Linked DNA regions of Homo sapiens: region 1 is linked to region 2. Evidence: promoter capture Hi-C in 16 types of primary human blood cells and fetal thymus (Javierre and others, 2016). All regions are on one chromosome and are shown on one strand. Each heading gives the region's core, a stretch centred on a gene start or on the middle of the fragment in contact. The rest is flanking DNA. Distances are from core to core; before and after follow the strand shown.

What was found. The method cuts DNA at HindIII sites, captures the fragments that hold promoters and counts their contacts. A CHiCAGO score of 5 or more calls a contact.
Region 1: the fragment with the promoter of ARK2N here is called in contact with the fragment with the promoter of IER3IP1 in region 2 in 1 of 17 cell types (naive CD8 T cells); the score reaches 5.3 in naive CD8 T cells.

What each region holds. Positions count from the first base shown.
Region 1 is chr18:46,172,683-46,175,382 of GRCh38, reverse strand. ARK2N (arkadia (RNF111) N-terminal like PKA signaling regulator 2N) reads right to left here and starts at 1,349. Exons shown (of 5, transcript NM_145055.5): 1 at 1,053-1,349. RefSeq lists enhancers at 336-465, 1,066-1,115, 1,146-1,405, 1,726-1,775. The HindIII fragment of the contact is 7,725 bases long and covers 1-2,165 here.
Region 2 is chr18:47,174,960-47,177,659 of GRCh38, reverse strand. IER3IP1 (immediate early response 3 interacting protein 1) reads left to right here and starts at 1,296. Exons shown (of 3, transcript NM_016097.5): 1 at 1,296-1,473. The coding sequence starts at 1,383. RefSeq lists enhancers at 1,128-1,257, 1,268-1,387. The HindIII fragment of the contact is 4,620 bases long and covers 1-2,700 here.

The sequences.
Region 1 (2,700 bases), core at 100-2,599, 1.0 Mb after region 2:
TACCCAATACTACACAATAAAAGCCTAAGCAAAATTGGCAGATGTTTTTGTAATTAAGAGGTCCAACCTTGACGAAGTATCATCAGTAGGATTTTAATTCTACTGGGTAAGAGGATTCAGAAAGCAAAAGGTCAGGCAAAAAACGAAAAACCCATCCAAACAGAAACTGCTCAAGGATCTGGTAGGGCTCGTACCGATGTTCTCTACTTCAACCTGTGAGCATCAATTTTGTGATGGGGGCTGCCGGGGACGGGGGTCGGGGCGGGGGGGTGGACAATTTTAAAGTGAGAATGAATGGCTTGCGTAAAGGCGATAGTCTTTAACACGGGTTCGTCAGTGTACATCCTCGCCGGTTTTGAAATAAAGTTGACAAACTCCCCAGAAGCGGTCTATTTTGGAGACTGACACATCTCTCGCATTGACTGGAGGCGCCTGCCGACCGAAGGTAGTGGAAGCGCCGAGAGGCAGGCGGCGCCAAGCCTATAAGAAAGCCTTTTCTCCCTCCACCAAGGCCACTGCGGCCGCGGCGCCGGAGCTCTCCGCTGCAGGGGCAGGTGTCGGCGCCAGACCCCCTACTCTCGGAGCTGGCGGAGTTGCCGCCACTGCTTCCCCCGCGGGCCTAGGAGCCGGAAAGTTGCGTGAAGACAACTCCAGGGCCGTGAAGTCGCTTCCCCCCGCAGCCCGGGGACTGCGGCACCTCCAGCCTCCCCTCAGCACCCCCGGAAAAGGACTCGCCTCAACCCGGCCCCAGCGTCTGGGGGCTTGGAGTGCCGGAGCCAACTCCGCCGGGCCGGGAGGACGCTAGGGTCACCAACGGCGGACGAGCAAGGAGGTCGGAGAGGTGCGATGCCCCAGCGTCAGCCGGCAATCCAGGCTGCGAGTTCCCGGCGCCCACCAGCCAGGCCCGCTAGGACCCCAGCGTCCGGACGCCGCAGAGCCCTCACCGCGGCCCGCAGCCCTCCGATTCGCCCCGACCCCTCCCTGGGACGCAACCCGGGCCCCCCAACTCGACCAGTAGCCAGGCCGCGGCCCTGCGCCCCTTCCCGCCTCACCTGCGCTCCGCGGCGACTCCGTGCCTTCTCGCTCGCTTCGCGCGCGCCCCGTCGGGGCACGCACCGAACCCCCGGCCGGGACTCTTCCCCGCTGCGGTGACTCAGGACGCGACGGCCACCGCCGCCTTCTCCTCCTCGGAACAAGCCCCGGCAGCGAGCAGTGGGTCGCGGTCAGAGCCCCTGCCGGGACCAAAGTGAACCTCGCCGCCTCCGCAGCCTCTACCACCAAGTCCCTTCAGTCGTCCGCGCCGCCCCCAAGAAAATGTCACCAGAGGCCGTTCCGCTGGGCGCCTCACTTCCGCCCGGAAACACAGAGCCCGCGTCGGCCGGCTAGAGAGGCAGCTGCGCCGGAGACCTCTGGAGACTGGCGCCCGAGGCCCGAGAAAAGCCAGACAGCGCCATCTGGCGCGATGGAACCCGCGCTCCTCCCGCTGCAGACCGCGGGGCGTGAAGGCGCCGGCTCCCCGGGCTTCTTTCCCGCGCTCCCTCCTTCTGTTGAGACCGTCACCTTCCCGAAATGTCTTTCCCGGGGGGTGGGAAAGCCACTCAATGCAAGCCAAGGACAATGCCTTCAGCAAAGGACAGCGCTCCCTTTTCTGTGCGCTGCTCAGTACTCACCCCCTCCTGAAGCCCTTCCGAAAGCAGCTTGCGGTGTCTGAATCCCAGAGTCGCTCCAGCGGAGAGCCCGTGCCCTTCTCTCCCCGCTTTTTCGCGGATGCCGATAGCTGGGCTCGGGGAGACTCGGCTGAGCTCTTCTCGGGCAGCGGCACCAATATCTGCTCAAGTTTCTGTCCGGGCACCTTGCAGGCCTTGCAGATCGACCGCCACCTGCTGGTGGGACGTGGCCCGCTGGGGAGACCCCGCTCTGCCCCGAATTCCGCCTCTGCAGTCGCCCTCCGATTTGCAGTCAGCCCTGGGGAGGGTGGGGGAAACGAGGTGGACCCGAACCCCGAAGAAGGGGAGGAGGGCGCAGGCCCACTGGCGGGTGGAGCGTTTCCCAAGGAGGAGCAGGAGATGCTGAAGACATATCTCAAGACTCAAGATCTGGCCAAGGACCCGCGCTCCCCCAAAGCAAAGCAGTGTTTTGAGAAGAAAAATAATAATAATAAAGCTTTGAGGAGGAAAATGTAAACGGTCTTTACCTTTACAGAGCTGTGCTGGAACCTCGGATGAGACCCGTCAAGAGGAGATTCTGAAAATCTCACACCACTGGGTCCGCACTCCCCTAAATATCAGTCTCCCCCTTCAGACCAGGCCCCTTAGTTCCCCCACTTCACTCATTTTTTCTGACTGCCTACAGGAGTGCGAGTTTTTCATCCCCAACTACAAGAATAAATTAAGAAAAGAAAATAATTTTATTATACCAGGCACCTTGCATTTAAATGGGTTAAATCCACTGAATCCTCATTACAACTCATAACAACCCTATGAGTTGGATGGCGTTACTAGTCCCAAATTGCAAAGGTGGAAACTGAGGGACAGAGTGACCTGCCCAAGATGACACATCCAAGTAAGTGGCAGTGTTGGATTCCAACACAGGCAGAGCTTACTTTCTTAACCACAGCCACCAACTGCCTCACTGAGAATCACAGAGAACGTAGTGTGTGCTAGCTAAGTAGTTTATCCGTGTATGTTATTTCACTCGTTC
Region 2 (2,700 bases), core at 47-2,546:
TTCCCAGCCCACTGACTCAAATGTTAATCTCCTTTGGCAACACCCTCACAGACACACCCAGGATCAATACTTTGCATCCTTCAATCCAATCAAGTTGACACTCAGTCTTAACCATCACATACAGCTAAGCAGGAGGCTAAGGCAGGAGGACTGCTCGAGCCAGGAGCTGAAGGCTGCATTGAGCTATGATGGTGCCACTGCACTCCAGCCTGGGCAACAGAGCAAGACCCTGTTCCTGGGGGGGGAAAAAAAAAAAGAAGAGGCTCAGAGGATCTTGGTTGGAGTTTGGTCAAGGAGGGGATGTTTCTCACTGAGTAATTTTAAAACAGTTATTTTGTTTTAGCATTCTGAAATCTGAAATGGGAATATTAGTATCTCCTGTATCTCCTGGGAGCATCAAGTGCAGTACTGAGCAATAGAAATATAATGCAAGCGTCACATGTCATTTACAGTATCTTCATAACCACATTAAATAAAATAATTAAAAATAAACAAGAAACCTTCCTCCCTTCCTTCCTTCTTTCCTCTTGCTCTGTCACCCAGGCTGGATCTCGGCTCACTGCAGTCTCTGCCTCCCGGGTTCAAGTGATTCTCTTCTCTCAGCCTCCTGAGTAGCTGGGATTACAGGAGCCCACCATCACACCCAGCTAATTTTTGTATTTTCAGTAGAGACAGGGTTTTGCCATGTTGGCCAGACTGGTCTCGAACTCTTGACCTTAGGTGATTTGCCCGCCTCGGTTTCCCAAAGTGCTAGAATTACAGGCGTGAGCCACTGCGCCCGGCCTCAAAATATTTTCATTTCAACATGTTATCAACATTTAAAAATTATTGGGAGGCCGAGGAGGGGGGAATCACGAGGTCAGGAGATTGAGACCATCCTGGCTAACACGGTGAAACCCCGTCTCTACTAAAAATACAAAAAATTAGCCGGGCGTGGTGGCGGGCACCTGTAGTCCCAGCTACTTGGGAGGCTGAGGCAGGAGAATGGCGTGAACCCGGGAGTCGGAGCTTGCAGTGAGCCGAGATCGTGCCACTGCACTCCAGTTTGGGCGACAGGGCCAGACTCCATCTCAAAAAAAAAAAAATTATTGGGATATTCTTCATCCTTGTTCCAGTTCCAAGTGTGTGAAATCCGGTGTGTATTTTGCACCTGCAGCACTGGCCACATCAGAGCATTGATTGCACATCACCGGTCTAGACAAGCGGCAGGACTTGCAGTCTTCAGCGAGGGGCGGTTCTTAGCCAGATGGAGGCGGGGCTTCCCGGAGAGTTCGTTTTGGGCCCCATCGGCTTCCGTAGGAAGGCGCCGGCCGTGGAGGCGCCACGTCCCTTGCGGCGGCGGGAGAGAAATCGCTTGGACTTCGGGGCGGCCTCGGACGGCCATGGCCTTTACCCTGTACTCACTGCTGCAGGCAGCCCTGCTCTGCGTCAACGCCATCGCAGTGCTGCACGAGGAGCGATTCCTCAAGAACAGTGAGTGGGACCGCGGGGCGCGGGCTGGGGCGGCGGCGGAGTCCCCGGGGGCGCGTAACCTAATGGGGCCGCGTGAGGGGACACCAAGGGCCGGGACAGAAGAACAGCGGAAGGCTCGGCTTGGAGTGGAAGCCGAGCCTTTCCTCTCATCAGGTTTGGGCTCAACAGCCGGGAGAATATTCAACAGACACCCGCTGTGCAGGGCCCAGGGGGTTGGGGTGGAGGGATATAGAAGTCAGTCAGGGACGCCTCTGCTTGCGATTACTTCAGGTCAGTAATTTAATTCAGTTTTCTGTGACTACTTTTTTTTTTGAGGGGGAGTCTCGCTCTTTTGCCCAGGCTGAAGTGCAGTGTCGCGGTCCTGTGACTACTTTTAATAGTCGAAAACCCGGGGTCTGAGTTTCGGGCTAAGAGTTGGGGGTGTGGGGCCGGGCGCGGTGGCTCCCGCCTGTAATCCCAGCACTTTGGCAGGCCGAGGCCGGCGGATCATGATGTCAGGAGTTTGGGACCAGCCTGGCCAACATGGTAAAACCCCGTCTCTACTAAAAATACAAAGATTAGCCGGACGTGGTGGTGGAAATACAAAAATTAGCCGGGCGGGAGGCTGAGGCAGGAGAATCACTTAAACCTGGGAGGCAGAGGTTGCAGTGAGCCGAGATTGCGCCATTGCACTCCAGCCTGGGCAATAGAGTGAGACTCCGTCTAACAAAACAAAACAAACAAAACAAAACGAGTTGGGTGTGGAGGGGAAGGAGGCGTGACCCATTTTGGAGCATCAGTAGTTCACTAACTGATGGAAGGCAATAAGTGTTCCTGGGCTTTAGGAATTACAGGAAGGGAACGTGTTGGAGTTATCAGGACATTCAGACACTCATGTTCCAAGAAAAGTTTATTCAGATAGCTTATTGGGTGCATAGAGTGTGCCAAAAACTCTGCTAGAATTTAGAAATTCAAAAATGAAAACACAAGTTATACCTTCCAGGACCTCACGTTGTGTACCAAGTATGCCCGTTTGAATCACTGAAACGTAAACCCAGGAGCAAGATTGATTCATTTCATTTACTTCAGAAGATATTTATTGAGTGCAAAGTATGTGCCAGGCCCATTTATAGTAACTGAAGTTACAGCAGCTACTCTGCCCTTCTGATGGAAGTTAATCTAAATAAAAACTAAACAAATGACAATAACAAGTATAGAGAGTATTATGTAAGAGAAGTACGGGCAGAT